2 separate regions of the Homo sapiens genome follow, and region 1 is linked to region 2. Evidence: promoter capture Hi-C in 16 types of primary human blood cells and fetal thymus (Javierre and others, 2016). All regions are on one chromosome and are shown on one strand. The core of a region is centred on a gene start or on the middle of the fragment in contact, and the rest is flanking DNA. Distances in the headings are between cores, read along the strand shown. Region 1 has its middle 39 kb from the start of MAL. Region 2 holds the start of ZNF2 (zinc finger protein 2).

What was found. Contacts are between HindIII fragments. The CHiCAGO score rates a contact against its expected background, and 5 or more counts as called.
Region 1: a fragment that was not itself captured here is called in contact with the fragment with the promoter of ZNF2 in region 2 in 4 of 17 cell types (fetal thymus, naive CD8 T cells, non-activated CD4 T cells and 1 more); the score reaches 10.2 in fetal thymus.

What each region holds. Positions count from the first base shown.
Region 1 is chr2:94,985,373-94,988,883 of GRCh38, forward strand. No RefSeq gene overlaps it. Among named protein-coding and RNA genes, the nearest start is that of MAL, 39 kb to the right of the region's middle. The HindIII fragment of the contact is 2,095 bases long and covers 288-2,382 here.
Region 2 is chr2:95,163,839-95,167,731 of GRCh38, forward strand. It overlaps ZNF2 (zinc finger protein 2), which reads left to right and starts at 1,971. Exons shown (of 5, transcript NM_021088.4): 1 at 1,971-2,022. RefSeq lists enhancers at 959-1,595, 1,596-2,230, 1,658-2,087. The HindIII fragment of the contact is 3,796 bases long and covers 1-3,340 here.

The sequences.
Region 1 (3,511 bases), core at 85-2,584, 180 kb before region 2:
TCCAGCCCCTGCAGCAGCCCCCGCCTGCCCATGAGAGGCTTCCAGCTGCTCTGTGCAACGGAGCAGATCCACTCTCCACAGAGGCTATCCTCCTTATTCTTTCCCATCTCAATGCTATCTCGCCAACCCAGCTGATTGGTCTCCCTCCCCTCTGTCCCAGGAGTGAACTTCCCAACCCTTAGGGATATTTCCCTCTCTGGGTCTTTCTCAGGGAACCTCCCCTCCTGCCGTCTGTGCCATTCCAATGGTTATGGTTATTTTGGCCAACACTCACCATGTGCCAGAGAAGCTTGTTAAGCCATCATGAGGACCGGATGATAGAGGGGCCAGCGGGACCCCCACCTCCTCTATTTGATGGACAGGGACACAGAGGCACAGGGGAGTTCAATGACCTTGCCACCAGGCAGAGCTGGGATTCAAACCCAGGAGGAACGCTCTTGCCTGGTGCGTGGATTGAGGGTGAGAGTGGAGGCAGAAAGCTGGCCTCAGGCTTCCTCAGCCCTGGCCACCCTGCCTGGGGAGCTTTCAACAATGCAGCCTCCCTTACCTGTTCAAGCAGAATCTTTGGGCAGGAACCCGACCCTCAGACTTTCTTGAATTCTGCAAAGGGTTCTAGGAGGAGAAGGACTCAAACAGTGCTGTCCAGAGGATGGTGCTCAGGTATCCATGGTTGTTTTTTATTTGTTTGTTTGTTTGTTTGTTTGTTTTGAGATGGAGTTTTGCTCTTGTCACCCAGGCTAGAGTGCAATGGCGCAATCTCGGCTCACTGCAACTTCCGCCTCCCGGGTTTAAGCAATTCTCCTGCCTCAGCCTCCCGAGTAGCTGGGATTACAGGCACCCAGGACCATGCCTGGCTAATTTTTGTATTTTTAGTAGAGACGGAGTTTCACCATGTTGGCCAGGCTGGTCTTGAACTCCTGACCTCAGGTGATCCACCAGTCTCAGCCTCCCAAAGTGCTGGGATTACAGGTGTGAGGCACTGCACCCAGCTGTATCCATGTTTTTAACAAGCTCTTTGCCCCATATCATGTTTTTTGCTTGCTTCTTTTTCTTTTGAAACAGTTTTCAAAATAATAAGCATCCTCCAAAAGTGACCAAAGAAGTTTTTGTTTTAAGTATCATTTTGAACTTGTGGATTTCAATTTAGTGCATTCCAATCCATTGTAGTGATAAGAAGCTCATGTGTTCCCATCTTTGGCCAGCAGGAGGCTGCTGAGTCCTTTTGACCAGAGCCCAGCAGCCTTTGGAAGTTTTCTCACCATCTGCTGTGGTAACATTCAGGCTCAACCTCCCTCTCCAAACCTGGCATCAGCCATTTCTTCCTGGACTCCAATCTGGGGGTTATTACCCCAGTTCTTATATTCTACTCTTAACCAACTTTCTAAATATAGGAGGCTCTTCTCCGTGTTCTAGAGAAGAATGGGTTAACACACCTGTTGTTAAGCTCCATCCTTCCTTAAGAAGTCCTTTCAAGTTTAAGTTCAGCCTTTTGGGAAATGTATACATGACTGCGTGTATTTGCTTATTTAAAAAAAAAAAGGATTCTGCCAAAGTTATACTTGAAATATACTCACTGTAAATGGCTCGCTGCAATCAAATATTTCTCCACTTTGAGGGCCAGTCCCAGCCACTAAAAAATATCTCCTGCTCTGAGAAAATACACAAATAAGCATTAAAATGAGAGGGAAGTTTAGGCCACCAGGAAATTTGGAAAACTAAGTATGAGTTTTAATTAAAAAGTAAATACAAATACTCAAAGATTTCACACCTAAAAAGAATCCAACCTAGACTACTTGAGACAGAAATGAGATAACAAACTCTACTACTGGGTTTACATCCACCTGTAGTCCTTGGCTGTGGTCCCTCCTACTGTTTAGGAGCCAGAGGGGTGTGGAAAGAGGAAGTGACTTTCTTCCGCACAACATTGATTCTGCAACACTGAAGCCATTGCAGGAAGGCTCCCACGATGTTTGAGTAGATTCCCAAATGCTCAGGGACCCCTGGCATGTCACGAAAGGTAGGACAGGGATCCCTAAGCCATAGCTGGAACCCGGAGAGAGGAAGCCACTGATGGGCTCCGTGGCACTGCAGGCATGATGCCCCATCAAGACTCCTAATTCCCCACGCCAACCTTGGCTGAGGCTCTGGCAGGCCACCCTCTGGGCTCATTCTAGGAGCCTCTACCTGCCCCTGCCCTCAGGTGTGAAATCTGGTTTTTGGGGGAGACCCACAAGTGTCCTACACCATGTCCAGGCAGCACCATGCCCTGCCCGTGTGACCTTGGGCCCCAGTCCCCTCCAGGACAGCACCACCTCCTGGACTATGGCGAAGATTAAATGTGCAAATGTAAGTAACGTGCATATGGCTACATCTGGCCAGGGAAGCTTCTGATGGCAGGAAGGGGACTGCGACCCCTCTGCAGACACTGGCTGGCAAAATGGGGCCCAGGTGCCGTTGCTGGCCCCACGCCTGGCACTGGTGAGCTGGCAGTAAGCAGCGGAAGGTAGCAAATGGCAGTTCTCTGGTCTTGCCAAGGGAGTTAGAGTTGCTGCGTGGACTACATGAGACAGTCAGAGTGAGTGCATCTTATAAACTGTAAAGTACCTGGTGAATGTGAGGAGGTGGTGGTGTCATCGCAGATTCATTCAAAAGAATGTACTTTGATGTCCCTCCCTCCCCACCTATTTTTTCAGACCCTGGGCTGGGCACCAGGAATACAGCAGTGAATGACACAGACGGCCAGGCTGCTGGAGGTGTTTCCCACCACCACCTCCTCACATTGACCAGGTACTTTACAGTTTATAAGATGCTCCCACTCAGACCATCTCATTTAGTCCACATGACAACTCTGACTCCCTTGGAAAGTCCAGAGAACTGCCATCTGATACCTTCTGCTGCTTGAATTCCTTGCCGAGGAGTCTATGCCTTGTGGTCACCTTCCTATTCTAGTCTGGCTTTTCATTTCCTTTTACCTTTTTCTCCTTAACAGCCCATAAATCCAAAAGTGTTTTTTCTCCTCAGGACAACCACAGTGGAAGCCTGAGAAGGGAAAGGGTGACATACCTATATCTATTTATTGGCCAGTTGTAGGATACAAACTGTTAGTCCCAGAAAACCAGGGATATACTTTGAAAAGCAGAACCTGAAGTTGTGTATCTTTTGGCTGAGATACACAGAAGGGAGTGAAGGTCGGGCACAATGGCTCACACCTATAATCCCAGCACTTTGGGAGGTCAAGGCAGGAGGATTGCTTGAGGCTAGGAGTTCAAGACCAGCCTGGGCAACATAGCAAGGCCCTGTCTCTACAAAAAATAAAATTAAAATTGGCCAGGCATTGTGGTGTGTGGCTGTAGTACTAGCTACTTGGGAGGCTGAAATGGGAGGACCACTTGAGCCCAGGAGTTGGAGGCGGCAGTGAGCCATGATTGCACCACTGCACTCCAGCCTGAGTGACAGAGAAAGACTCCAAAAAAAAAAAAAGTAAGTGTTTGGTCTAGAAAGACTCTAATAC
Region 2 (3,893 bases), core at 721-3,220:
GCTGAGATGGGAGGACTACGTGAGCCCAGGAGGTGGAGGTTGCAGTGAGCTGAGAGCATGCCACTGCATTCTGGCCTGGCTGACACAGCCAGAGCCTGTCTCAAAAAATAAATAAAGTGAGAGCTAGAATTCTGAGAATCGAGCAACAAACCTGACTTTTAGACTGCTAAATCCTAGAGCACATAAACTTCCACTTTGGCAGCTACCTGGAAGCGGTAAAGACAAAGCCTAGGGCCTGCCAGTGGGTGGGGAATATTCTAGAAGGAAACACTTTCAGGACCCCAGTTTCCACCCTCAGTATAAGGCTAAATAATAAAAACCACCACACAGAAGGGAACAAAAAAAAAAAAGTATTTCTCTTATGGATGTTGTGACTTTAATCAAGCTCTAATCTCCTAGGAAGGTCCAAACCCCTTAGTACAACACAAAGGCAGCCACAACCTGGCCTTACCTCAAGATAGTTATTGGCCCCTAAACCTCATCCACAAGGCATTCATTTTGCTACTAATTATTTTCACTTTTATCCTCTAGACTATGCCTTTGCATGTACTATTCACTGTTTAGATCACACTTTTTTTTTCTTAAGTATTTAAGTATACCAGTGAAAGGAATCCTTTCCCACCTTTCCCGGCCATAGTTAATAGCTTCCTCCATTGTACTCTCATAGTATGTTGAATGTGACATAATTATAGAACATACTGCCTCTATTGTGATTTTACATTCTGATTTTTTCCATTGGACCAAGAGTTCATTTGGGGCAGTAACTTACTCATATTTGTAACTGTGCCTTGCTTATGGTGAGCAATTTGGATTTTTTGAATGAAAGTGTAGTCTTATGGAGATGGAGAGTAGAAGGATGGTTAACAGACTGGGAAGGGTTGGCGGGGTGGGGAAGTGGGGATAGTTAATGGGTACAAAAAATAGAATAAGAAATAGTATAACTAGTATTTGATAGCACATCAGAGTAATTACAGCCAATAATATTGTATATTTTAAAGTAACTAAAAGAATATAACTGGATCGTTTGTAACACAAAGGACAAATGCTTGAGGTGATGGATATCCCATTTGTCCTGATGAGATTATTACTTATTGCATGCCTGTGTCAAAATATCTCAGGTGGCCCATAAATGTTCACACCTACTGTGTACCCACAAAAACTTAAAAAAAACCCAAACCACTAATAAATTAACCTGGAAAAACGTAGCTTTGTTCCTGAAGTAAGATTTTATCATATTCTTTGTAATTTTCAGTCTTCCCTGAGATGTAGCTCAGTGGTTCCTAGCTTTAGCTGCACATTAGAGTCACCTGCAGCTCTTTTCAAACTGTCGCTCCACAGCTGGGCCTCAGGCATCAATGTCGAAAGCTCTCCGGGTGATTCCAGCTTGCAGCCAGGGCCGTTCCAGCAACTCCAAGGCTGGCTGGTGTGCGCTGAAGCTGTCGGGAGTCGGACCAGCTGCACAGTTAATACATATGTGTCCTAGGCTCCTCTCTCCTTCCAACGCAAATATGTGTACAAACCCTGCCTGGAACCGCAGCCCTGCTCTCAGAATCAAATTCCTGAAAGTGGGCAAGCGGAAGCGGAAATAAGCCCTCTCCCAACGCCAGCTGACTCGATTTCGTCTCGGTCTTCCCCAGAGCTGGACACGAGGCACCATGATCAGAGAGACACATTCCCTGCGGACGGCGCTCCCATCGGATACTGGAGGGACGCGACACTAGAGGCAGGCAGTACTTCAGGGTGACCATAAGTCTCCCAAACAGCCACAACGGCTCGCTCTCCCAGCTAAGGCGACAGCGCTGCCATTTTGGATCCTGTTCAGCCACGGGAAGCCGGCGTTTGCACACATTTTCGGACGTCATATTAAAGCGCACCGGACGCCGAGACTTCTGGGAGATGAAGTCCTTGCGAAGGCCCCGCATTGATTGGGAGCGCAGTCGCCAGGACCCTGTGCGCAGGCGCGTTGGTTTCCCGACCTGAAGAGGCGCCGTCTTCCCGGGTCCCGAGCACTCTGTGCCGGAGGTGAGGGTTGTGGGTGTGTGTCTTCAAGGAGCGGAGTGAGCGCAGCAGCCGAGAGAGGGGACATGAGAACTTTGGGGAGGTGCTGTGGGAGCAAAACGGGGTGACACGGGCGAGGCCAGCCTGCAGAGCGTGTGTCGCGACGTCTCGGTGCGGACGGAAAGTTGTGCATCCACCCCCGTGTGTGCGTGTGTCCCGTGGGGTCTGGGCACCCATTGTATGTCGGTCCCGGACTTTAAGGTTGGAGGTTTGGAGTCTTCCTCCGCCTCTCCCGTTTCTTCTTCCCATAATGGGTGCTTAATGAACGTGGGTGGAATTGACACCAAATCTAGGATGCTGCCGCTCCGTCTTTGCCAGACAGCGCCTCAGATTGCCTCATTTAGCTCCCTGCCCTGGGCCTCCGCACGAGTGCTGGAGGGCTTCATGGAGGAGGTGGGATTTGACGTGAAAGAAAAACAACAACAACAAAACAAAAACCACGAAAGAAGCAGCTAAGCGTTAGGCAGATTTGAGCTGGAGATAGTTTTTACAGAAATGCAGGAACAGTGGTAGACAAGGTTGAAGAAAAGGTACGCTGGGAGCCAGGGCCCGGGACTCAGAGAATCAGGACAAGACTCAGTAGGCAAGGTGGCTTATATAGGTGTGATCCAGGGACTGACACGAATGAAACTATTTGGAGACAGTTATTCTAGAGGTCACATTCAGGACTAGAGAGGGGAAAGGACCAGTAGCAGAGAGCTACTTAGGAATGTATGGTAGTTTTGGAGTAAGATGTTGTGGACTTGAATTATGGTGGTGGTAGTGAAAGGGAAGGATACAGATGACACTGCAAAAGAAGAGTCAAAAGGGCCTGGTGACTAGATTTGGGAGGAAAGAGAGTGAGGTAAGAGTTTGAATTTGGGACACCTGGGAGAACAATAAAACATCTGATACAAATGTAAAGCCAGGAAGAGGCGTTGATGTGTGGAATTGCCTAAAGGAAGATAGTTTTGAGGTGATGGTGGAACGCCTGATTTAAGGTTTGCAGTCATTTGGAAATGCAGGATGAGTCTGGAAGAATGCAATACAGTTGTATTGTAAAATTACAATACAATTACAGGACATGGACATCTGTAGAGTTTGAAAATGGAGCCCTGAATGTGGATGGACTTTCTGAGGGATGGCAAAAACGAAGAAAGTACAAAGACTGAGCTATGGGCAGCATCCATGTTTCCAGGGCAAAAGTGGGGAAAAAGAGTCACAGAAAGACAGCAATTTTAGTGGTTGGAAGAAAAGCTAGTGCAGTATCATAGCAGTTACAGTAACCACTTGAATAAGCAGAAGCTTGTCCGAACAGTGAAAAGCTACAGAGAAATAGATAATATGGCCGGGCACAGTGGCTCACGCCTGTAAGTCCCAGCACTTTGGGAGTCTGAGGCGGGCGGATCACGAGGTCAGGAGATCGAGACCATCCTGGCTAACACGGTGAAACCCCGTCTCTACTAAAAAAATACAAAAAATTAGCCGGGCGTGGTGGCGGGCGCCTGTAGTCCCGGCTACTCGGGAGGCTGAGGCAGGAGAATGGCATGAACCCGGCAGGCGGAGCTTGCAGTGAGCCAAGATTGCGCCACTGCACTCCAGCCTGGGTGACAGAGCGAGACTCAGTCTCAAAAAAAAAAAAAAAAAAAAAGAAAGAAATAGAGATAATAGGATCAGAAATGCATTGGTAGGCCAGGTGCGGTAGCTCATGCCTGTAATCCCAGCACTTTGGGAAGCCGAGGTGGGCAGATCACTTGACGTCAGGAGTTCAAGACCAGCCTGGCCAACATGGTGAAACCCCGTCTCTACAAAAATACAAAAATTAGCAGGGCATGATGGCGGGTGCCTGTAATCCC